2 separate regions of the Homo sapiens genome follow, and region 2 is linked to region 1. The links are contacts of gene promoters, found by promoter capture Hi-C in blood cells and fetal thymus (Javierre and others, 2016). All regions are on one chromosome and are shown on one strand. Each heading gives the region's core, a stretch centred on a gene start or on the middle of the fragment in contact. The rest is flanking DNA. Distances are from core to core; before and after follow the strand shown.

Region 1 (5,236 bases), core at 880-3,379:
CCAGCATCCCCCAGAATGTGATCTTATTTGAAAATAGGGTCTTGTAGAAGTAAGCAAGTTAAAATAAAGTCATTAGGGTGGGCCCTAATCCAACATGACTGGTGTCCTTATAAAAGGGAAGTTTGGACACAGAGACAGCCATGCACAGAGGGAAGATGACGGGAAGACACACAGGAAGAACACCAAGAATTGCCAGCAAACATCAGAAACTAGAAGAGTCAAAGGATGATTCTCCCCTAGAGCCATGGGGGCTGGAGGGGAGCAAGTGCATGCCAACACTTTGATTTTGGACATCAAGCCTTCAGAACTGTGAGGCAATTTTTGGGTTTGATCCTTTGTTATGGCAGGCAGCCCTAGAAAACTCAACCAAAAGAGAAAATTGTTGTACATGAGGCAGTAATTGCTGAGGACTTTGATTGGAGAAGCCAAGGCACATAAAGGAAGTTGTAGCCAAAGCATATAAAGGAAGTTGTTCTGTTTCCAGGTGGAAACAGAATTACTTAGCAAGCAGAATTCAATGGTGTGGAGTATTGGATCAATCTCCCTAAACACATATTCAGGTAACCGACCTTCATTTTTTGTCCCCTTCTTCTTTCCAAATACCATATTCCACTGATCCTAGAGGCACATCTCACATCTCTGAAATCAGCCTGTTCACTGGTGTCCAGCAAGAGGAAGTGTAAAAAAGTTTCAAAAAAAATCACATGGAGAGACCATCACAGACAACTTCCGGTACACAATATTATATTAACAGTTTAAAAATATGCATATAAATGCATTTCTATCTATATATAACTTCTATCTATGATTATCTATCTATATATAATTCCTTTTTTTTTTGTTTTGTTTTTTTTTTTTTAGTAGAGACAGGGTTTCACTGTGTTAGCCAGGATGGTCTCGATCTCCTGACCTGGTGATTCGCCCGCCTCGGCCTCCCAAAGTGCTGGGATTACAGGCGTGAGCCACCGTGCCCGGCCTATCTATATATAATTCTATGTATTCTATCTATATAGCGATATATAATTTCTATCTGTAATGCAAATCTACATGTGATTTCTATCTATATATACATGTAGATAGAAAATTTAGGGAATTCACTGCAGGTGCTGCTTGCAGTCCACTTTTAAAACCTAACATTACATAATAAAACACTATTTTAAGAAGCTGCACTAGGCCGGGCTTGGTGGCTCACGCCTGTAATCCCAGCACTTTGGGAGGCCAAGTCGGGTGGATCACAAGGTCAGGAGTTTGAGACCAGCCTGGCCAACATGGTGAAACTCCGTCTTTACTAAAAATACAAAAATTAGTCTGGGGTGGTGGCGTGCGCCTGTAGTCCTATTCAGGAGGCTGAGGCAGGAGGATCGCTTGAACCCGGGAGGTGGAGGTTGCAGTGAGCCAAGATCGTGTCAATGCACTCCAGCCTAGGAGACAGAGCGAGACTCCGTTTCAAAAAAAAAAAAAAAAAAAAAAAAAAAAAAAAAGGAGCTGCACGATGCTCCCCTTGGGCGTGTACCATACCTTATTTAACCATTCCCAAACTGTTTCCATTTTTTCTGATGTTAAATAAACTCTAAGATGTACAGACGTCTTTTATCTGGCTCTCCGATTACCTTCTGCAGATAAACTCCTAGAAGTTACTGGGGCAAAGGGAGTGAACCTTTAATTTTTAATAAAATTTTTTAAATTACAGAAAAAGCCGTAGTCGTCAGATTCTACTTCCTAGGCGGTCCACAGGGATTTCAACAAGTTCGATTCAAACCATCCCAAATTCCCTCCCGGCACTAAGTTTTCCTCGGTCTTGGGAAACGTGGCCCCGCAGTCCGCACTCACGACTGCGCACAAACGCTGGCCTCTTTCCAATGGCGAAACTTCTCGACACGCCCCCGAGGCACCACCTCTTTAAAATTTAAAACGAAGGCCCAGGCCAATGAATGCTAAGCTTCTCTCGGACCACAGAGACCCGCCCACCGTCACTCCCTCCACCAATCAGACTGAAGTTTTCTCCACTGCCCCTCCAATCACCGCCAAAAATGGAAGTTGCTCTCGTAACTTACGTAAGGCAAGCAGCCAATAGGAGCAAACCTTGGAAACTAGCTCCCCCAATAGCAGCAGTTCCTGGAGAGCGCGGGAGCCTTTCGACCAGGGTCCCAAAGGAAAGCAGTGAGTGGTGCTGTTTCCCTGAAGGAAGGGACTAAGGGACGGTGGCGCGGGCCCGGACCGGGGCCCCGGGGCGGCGGCACGGCCGATATGGCATGCTGTCACAAAGTAATGCTGCTGCTGGACACCGCGGGCGGCGCCGCCCGCCACAGCCGGGTCCGGCGGGCCGCCCTGCGCCTCCTCACCTATCTGAGTTGCCGATTCGGCCTGGCCAGGGTCCACTGGGCCTTCAAGTTCTTTGACTCGCAGGGGGCGCGGAGCCGGCCGTCCCGCGTGTCTGACTTCCGCGAGCTGGGGTCCCGCTCGTGGGAGGACTTTGAGGAGGAGCTGGAGGCCAGGCTCGAGGATCGCGCCCACCTGCCCGGCCCGGCGCCCAGGGCCACCCACACGCACGGCGCCCTGATGGAGACGCTGCTAGACTACCAGTGGGACCGGCCCGAGATCACGTCGCCCACGAAGCCGATCCTGCGGAGCAGCGGGAGGAGACTGCTGGACGTGGAGAGCGAGGCCAAGGAGGCCGAGGCCGCGCTCGGGGGCTTGGTGAACGCCGTCTTCCTCCTGGCCCCCTGTCCGCACTCGCAGAGGGAGCTGCTGCAGTTCGTGTCTGGGTGCGAGGCCCAGGCCCAGCGCCTGCCGCCCACCCCTAAGCAGGTGATGGAGAAGTTGTTGCCCAAGAGAGTCCGGGAAGTCATGGTCGCCCGAAAAATCACCTTCTACTGGGTGGATACCACCGAATGGTCTAAGGTAAGGAAGGTTACTGTCGTCTCAGATGGCGTGCACGGTGCTTTCCTTGCTAACCAGAACTTGGCAGCGTCCTTAGAACAGCCACAGACCCCGAATGAGACTAATATGACTATGCGTCCCTTCGGAAGGAAACAAATAAATAGGAACAGTTTTCACAACAAAATGGGTAGTTCCTCACTACCTACTGTTTAAGACCCCTCACAATTTGGGCCCTACCTGCCTTCCCAGACTTGATTTTCCTACACACTACATCTACTCTAGCATATTGAAGTCCAGTCCAGAAAATCAACAGGTCTGGACTGCTTGTTTTGTGTTATGTGTGTTGTTCAATCTGCCTGGAATGCCAGTTCTCACTCTTCCAGGCCAGTCTTAACTTCACTTACCCTTTAAGGCTTCTTCTCCCAGTGACAACTGCTCAGTCCAGCGTCTGAATTGCCATACACATTTTGTGTGGCACTTAACCATTTCTCCATATGTTTTGATTATGCACATCTCTCACCCTCCATCTAGTCTAAAAATACCTCAGAGGCAAGCAGCAGGTTTTAACACAATACCCAGGGGTGTGTGTGTATGTGTGTGTGTATATATATATATATATATATATATATATATATATATATACACACACACACATATATATACACATTTATTTATATACATATATATATTTATTTATTATTATTTTTTGAGACAGTGTATGTCGCCCAGGCTGGAATGCAGTGGCTCACTGCAACCTCCACCCCTCCGGGTTCAAGCGATTCTCATGCCTCAGCCTCCCAAGTAGCTGAGACTACAGGCCCACGCCACCATGCCTGGCTAATTTTTTTGTATTTTCAGTGGAGACCAGGTTCCATGCTGCCCAGGCTGGTCTCAAACTCTGGCCTCAGGCAATCCGCCTGCCTTGGCCTCCCGAAGTGCCAGGATTATAGGTGTGAGCCACCACGCCCAGCCACCCAGATGTGTATTAAACGTTGTAGGTGTTCAGTCAGTATTGGCTGACTAAATGAGTACATTCTTGCGTACATTCTTGCAAACTTAAAGTCTTAAATGGCTAATTTGGATTTTTGCTGAGGCGGTGAGGCCCCCTGCTCCTGTTAAGTGCTAGGATAAGTATATACTTTTGCCTTCATCCTTCTCATTGCACTTCATTTAGTCAACAAATGTTCATTGAGAAGCCAGTAACATCTGAGTGCCTACCACACTGTTTGAGCTGCTGGGGACATGGTAACCAAAGCAGGGAACAGATTAAACAGATAAGCAAGTGACAATTTCAAATCATGCTCTGGAGAAAATAAAATGGGGTGAGAGGATGGGAGTAGAAGGTGGTTATTGTATACAGAGTGGTAGTGAGGGAAGGCCTTTTTTTTTTTTTTTTTTTTTTTTTTTGAGACAGAGTCTCGCTTTGTCACCCAGGCTGGAGTGCAGTGGCGTGATCTCGGCTCACTGCAACCTTCACCTCCTGGGTTCAAGCAATTCTCCTGCCTCAGCCTCCCAAGTAGCTGGGATTATAAGCGGGCGCCACCAGGCCTGGCTAATTTTTTTGTATTTTTAGTAGAGACGGAGTTTCACCATGCTACCCACCCTGGTCTCAAACTCCTGAGCTCAGGCAGTCCGCCAACCTCAGCCTCCCAAAGTGCTAGGATTACAGGCATGAGCCACCGTGCCTGGCAGGGAAGGCCTTTTTGAGCAGAGAATTGAATGGTGAAGGAGGAGGAACTCAAAGGTAGGTAAAGAACATTCCAGGTGAGGAGACAAGCAGGTGTAAGGATTTCAGCTGGAAATGAACTTAGTTTGTTTCAGAAACAAAAAGGCAAGGAGTGCTGAGACCTAGTAGGCAAGGGGAGCAGTGTGAGAGAAAGTCAGAAAGCAGGAGAGGCCGATCTGTAGGGCCAAGGTCAAAAATGTGGATTTTGTTCTAATTAATTAATGGGAAGGCTTTGGAATGTGGTTTAACCAAGTGAAAGATGTGATTCCACTTAATGGAAATACATGTCACTAACCCAGGAGTGAGTTAAATTGCAAGATTACAGATGGAAAATGAGCAAGCATTTAAATAATAATATGGTATGTTAAAATTTTCAAAGTGCTTTCACATGCGAAGCCCAAAAAAGGCGTGGCAAATGCAAAATAAGGCAGCAGTGGTTTGTCAAGAAAAGGAAGGGACAAAAAGTGTTTAAGGGGATGGTAAACATTTGATGGGGAAAATGAAATCCTAGATATATTAAAATTTAAGGCAGCCAGTCAAGCCTTAGACACAGTATACAACACATTGCTCAGCTGGAAACAATTGATATCACATCAAAGACTTTCTTCTGGAATTTTATTATGTTAAATA
Region 2 (5,236 bases), core at 1,266-3,765, 2.3 Mb after region 1:
AAAATAATGACATAGATGACTGAGTGTGGTTAATGAGGCTCTATCTCACTGCTTTGTAGTCACACTTTTTCTTTCAGCCTGAGAATAGTCAAGTGGGCTTGCAATTAATGGGTGAGGCGAAACTGCTAGGTTTGTTACTCCTTTTTTTTTTCTAAAGAAACATCATTTCGAAGATGAGTTTCTGCATATTCAACCCAGAAGCAGACAGCTCAGGAAACTGTCTGTTGACATTTTCAACAGAGAGAGACATTTTTAAAGTCCTTGTCAAATTACTATGATGACTAAGGTAACCGTATTTTATTTAATCAAATTATTTTATACACTTATGCTTACTCAAAGTGACAAAATTCCTTGCCATTTCCATAATTACTATGTAGCCCCAGGTAGTAAGAAATAAAATTACCTTGATTTTTTTTTTCCTTATAGCTAGATTCAAAATGTTAATAATTATTAAGGGAAAAAGGTGTTTCTGAAAATTCTTTTCAGCCAGGTTTGTGTATTTATCTTTGTTTGTGAGGGGGTTTTTGTTGGTGTATTTAACAATAGAAGAAACTGAATGAGTTGTAAAATGAGCGAGGGCTCTATCCTGCATTTTGTTAACTCTTCCCCTCATTCAATTTTAGACACCTTATGAAAAGGATCGCCAAGAGGCCTCTCTGCAGTGGCACCGCCTTGCTAATCAATTGCCCAGCATTTGCAGCTCATCTTGGGTGCTGCTGGAATCGTGTTTTCTGTTATGCTGCATGGGCTGCTTCTTGCACGAAGTCATTGGTGAACTGCTGGGCAAAGGCAGCCCCACCAACAGGGTCTCTGTGAATTTATTTTGCACACCTAAAAGCAAACTTTGAGGTGCTGCCTTGATCAGGGACTGTATTCTCTTAGCAGATTGGCCTGGATGAACAAGGGTAGTATTGCAAAAATGATGAGGATACAGCTGCATTTCATGCAGAAAGAGTGAAGAATAAAACTCCCTACTAGCTGCATTTCTCTGGCTTTAGTTCCAACTCGCGCAGATTTCACTACATGCATCATTTAATAAGCATGTTTCTCTAAAGTGGAGTCAAAGTACTTCTCTTCTGCATATGTACTCTATTCTGTACATTGCCGCATGCATTGCATATTTACATACGTGTTTGTGTACAGCGTTGCATACAATGAATATTGTATGCCATACTTTTTGAAGGTGCGAAGGGACATTTCAATGGTAACTTTGACTGTATGGTTGACACATGGATTTGGAACCGTTCTCCCCTGAAGAAAATCTCGGTATTTTCTTGCCTCTCGGAAATGCCTTTGGTAATCTGTAGGCCAGAAAGATAGCATCCTTACTCTTTCAATTCATTTTTATTTTCGGTTTCTATGTCTGTATCTGGAAAACAGATATAAACAGGAAAAACAGTGGAATCATGGACCTTGGCTCATAGGATAAATGAATTGATGTGATTCAAAGACACTTGTATTTTATGTAGCCTAAGTGTTTATGTGTTAGCATGAGACAAATTATTGCTTAATGGTTAAAACTCCAAGTTAAATGATTACAGTTCCAAGGTGGAGAAAGGCAAGTGTCTGTGGCAGCTGTCGCTTATTCGATGAGTGTTAGAAGACTGGGATTCATGCCTATGTCCTCCCCTTACCTGCTCTGTGACCTTGAGCTGTTTACTTAATCTCTGTGTACCTCAATTTTTCATTTTATAACTGGGGTTATAATAGTACCTACCCTCTGTTTTGCTGTGAGGATGAACTGAGTCAGTACATGTAAAGCACCTTGAACAATATCTGGCACATAGTGAGTGCCCAGGAAATATTAGCTATTACTATTAATAATAATATGGTTATGCATATTTACTGCAAACATAATAACCGTGTAGCCCCAACCAATGAGAAATAAAATTATTTCAATTAAACTTTAGTTTTGGTTTAGTGAATTGCATATTCAAGTAGTTTCCTATTCTACATGGACATTTTTGTCTGGGAGGTAAAAAGTTTTTAAGGGCAAGTAATAAGCTAAATATCAGTTGCTAATTCTGTTTATTCCCTTATAAATATAGCAATCCATTTCATCTTAAAGATGCTATAAAAATTAGTCACATGGGAGAGGAGCCCACTGCAGGAATGGTGATTCATGTTGATCATTTACAGTCCATGGGTACTTGAAGGAGGTTAAAGCAGGGCAGGCAGGACTGGCTGGGCGGGGCAGGTACCCTGATGCTTCACTTTGGGAGGTCCTCAGTATCTCTTGCTGTGGTCTGTGGCCACTGGGTGCTGAAGGCTGAGGGTAGGTGGAAAGAATGTTGGACTTGGAGTTGGAAGACCTGGATTTGAACTTAGACTTGCTATTTCCCAGCTCCTGGCAACTTCACTTACTCGAGCCTCAATAGCCTCATCTGAAAAATGGGGATAATGATCAAGCTTATCTTACAGATGGTTGTGAGGTTTAAACAAATAGTCATGTGATAGAGTACTTCTCATAGGGTACAGTATTCCACAGTTGCTTTAACAGTAATGGTATAACCCTGCTCGTTGACATTAGCACCAACAAAAGTCCCTCCCAGGGAGCTGAGGATTTGGAATATTGTGTGAGGCCAAGGCTTCTGTTTCCTAAACTGGTGATCTGGGCTCCTGAAGCTTGCTCTGCTTCACTGGCTGAAAGGCTGAGTGACCAATTCAAGGGAGCCCGAGGTGTCAGGAGGGCGAGGACAAAGGGACATATGTTGTGGACATATGCTGCCCTCCAGGCAGCCTTGTTTAAAACGTGCCTTCGCAGAGCTCAGCCTTGGTTGCCCAGAGGGGCTCAGGTCTCACGTCTTGTCTGCTGCCTTCACCTCGTGTTCTCTTGCAGTATTAAGTGGACTCTGGCAAGCAGGTCTGTGGGCATTTCCCCACGCTTGGTCTTTTTTTTTGGTTTCTCATAAGCAGAACAATGGACCTGTTCCTGCAACCTGGTTTCCCATCCCATGGATTCATCCATCTCGGCTTACGGACATACCTTCTGCACAACACCACTCCCGTTCCATCTGTAGTCTTAGAAGCAGCCTTCCCGCCCCCAGTCTGGTCACACCTGTCCTTGCGAAGGATAGAGAAGGAATTGGGCCTTTCTCAGTGAATCAGGTGGCAGTGTATGTTTTAGGTGAGTTTTTAGATTCACCTTCAAATGCCACAGGCTTCAGGAGAGAGTCTGTGCTCAGAAGACCTCAGAGCCCCAAAGCCGGGTCACTCTGATGACTTTGCCGAGGGAGGAATTGTGTGTAAAGCACTGAATCTTGTGCAGCCACAGGTGTGGAGTGAGCAAGCCAGGGGAGCCTTCATCCATGAGTTCCAGTGACAACACAGAGACTGGAAACATTCCCTTGGATGTACACAGAACCTCAGCAGTTGGTGACTCCCAACTTCTTTATTTCGGTTCTTCTTTGTGGTTTTGAGTCGAGTGCCTCTGAAAAGGGAAGCCCTTACTGAGGACTTAGCAGCTCGATTGTTTAGTAGAAACGGTGTTAACAGCCTCGTTATTTCCCATATGACTGGGCATTCCTCTTTAAACACGGAATAGTTGGTCATTAGTACTTTCCTGAACTTAGACAATAGTTGCACTTATTCCTCCTAATCAACACACATTGAAAATATTTAAAAGCAAAAAGTAACATAGGCTGCCATAAGCCCCACTTTTGTTGTTGTTGTTATTTTGAGACAGGGTCTTGCTCTATCATCCAGGTTGGAGTGCAGTGGCAGGATCACAGCTTGACGTCCCAGGCTGAAATGATCCTCCCACCTCAACCTCCCAAGTAGCTGGGACTACCGGCACATACCACCAAGCCTGGCTAGTTTTCTTATTTTTTTTTTTGGTAGAGATGGGGTGTGGGGTGGTTTCATCATGTTGTCCAGGCTGGTCTTGAACTCCTGGACTCAAGTGATCCACCTGCCTTGGCCTCCCAGAGTGCTGGGATTACAGGTGTGAGCCACGGTGCCTTGCCAAGCCCTACTTTTTTCAGTGGGGTGGGGCGGGTGGGGCAGGAAGAAGTGTGAACTCATCTTTCCCTTTTGCCCTCATGATTTCCTTTATAAATACCCCTGCCATGACTTTTCAGTACTCTCCTTTTCATGGACGTAATAGTCCAAGTGGCATTTTAAGTTATCTGGTAATGGACTCAGAGAGCCCACTGACTGTAATGATGAAGTCTTATTTTTTTATTTTTTATTTTTTTTTTGAGACAGTCTCACACTGTTGCCCAGCCTGGAGTGCAGTGGCATGACCTCAGCTCACTGCAACCTCTGCCTCCCGGGTTCAAGCAATTCTCCTGCCTCAGCCTCCCCAGTAGCTGGGACTACAGGCGCGTACCACCACTCGGCTAATTTTTTGTATTTTTTTTAGTGGAGACGGGGTTTCACCATGTTGGCCAGGGTGGTCTCGAACTCCTGACCTCAAGTGATCCACTCACCTCAGCCTTAGCATTGGTTTTGGTTAAAATCTTTGCCCTCTGAAAATTCTGGGAACAGGCTGTGCCCATAAACCCATCCCATAGGCAGTGATGGGACTACCACATTTGTTCTGCCAGGTTGTCCTTTGGGACAACTTTTGGGTGTCTGGATAATGAACCTGTTCAGATAGGCCTTGAGACTTTCTTGGTAGCTCTAAAGTCTCTTCTGGCTCTCCGTCCATTGATACCTAAATTTCTAGTTGTGCAGAGCGTGAAGAAATGAGCAGGGGCTGATGAGGCTTTTAACAAATAGTTCCGGAGAAAATAATAGAAGGCAAACTAAATCCCTGCTCACAAAACTACAGGAATTTGAGGGAGTTAGAAGTGATTATTTTTACCGCCATTTCTGCACTTGCAAGGTTGATGTAGGGAGAAGTGTCACAATGATGTTTTTCATTTAAAGACTACTGTAAAATATTAATGGGAATGGCTATTGTCTTTCACCCCCTTTGCAAGAGGCTTATGTAAAATAGGCAGGCTGTTTCTAATTGTTGAATTTGTCTCCCAACTTCAGCTGATTAGAAGGAGAAATTACCACCTTGAATATAAGCAGGTTGAAATTGGGAGAGCTGCCCTCAGCTGATTATATAAGCTATAAAATACAGCACCTAAAGTCTTATGTTTACTCTGCTAAGAATTCCCTTAATGAAGATGAAAATTTCTAAGCAGCATGGACCCATATGTGTTTATTATGTAAGATTCAATTATGGTGATCCAACCTGTAAAATAAACAGTGGGGCTGATTAATCTCTTTGTTGGCTTTTGGG

What was found. Contacts are between HindIII fragments. The CHiCAGO score rates a contact against its expected background, and 5 or more counts as called.
Region 2: a contact is called between a fragment that was not itself captured here and the fragment with the promoter of TICRR in region 1, in 1 of 17 cell types (naive CD4 T cells). The highest score is 5.2, in naive CD4 T cells.

The regions. Positions count from the first base shown.
Region 1 is chr15:89,573,340-89,578,575 of GRCh38, forward strand. TICRR (TOPBP1 interacting checkpoint and replication regulator) reads left to right here and starts at 2,130. Exons shown (of 22, transcript NM_152259.4): 1 at 2,130-2,901. The coding sequence starts at 2,248. RefSeq lists a silencer at 2,118-2,407 and an enhancer at 2,529-3,057. The HindIII fragment of the contact is 7,754 bases long and covers 1,938-5,236 here.
Region 2 is chr15:91,857,975-91,863,210 of GRCh38, forward strand. All of the region lies in intron 1 of SLCO3A1 (solute carrier organic anion transporter family member 3A1), which reads left to right. Among named protein-coding and RNA genes, the nearest start is that of SLCO3A1, 6.9 kb to the left of the region's middle. The HindIII fragment of the contact is 216 bases long and covers 2,408-2,623 here.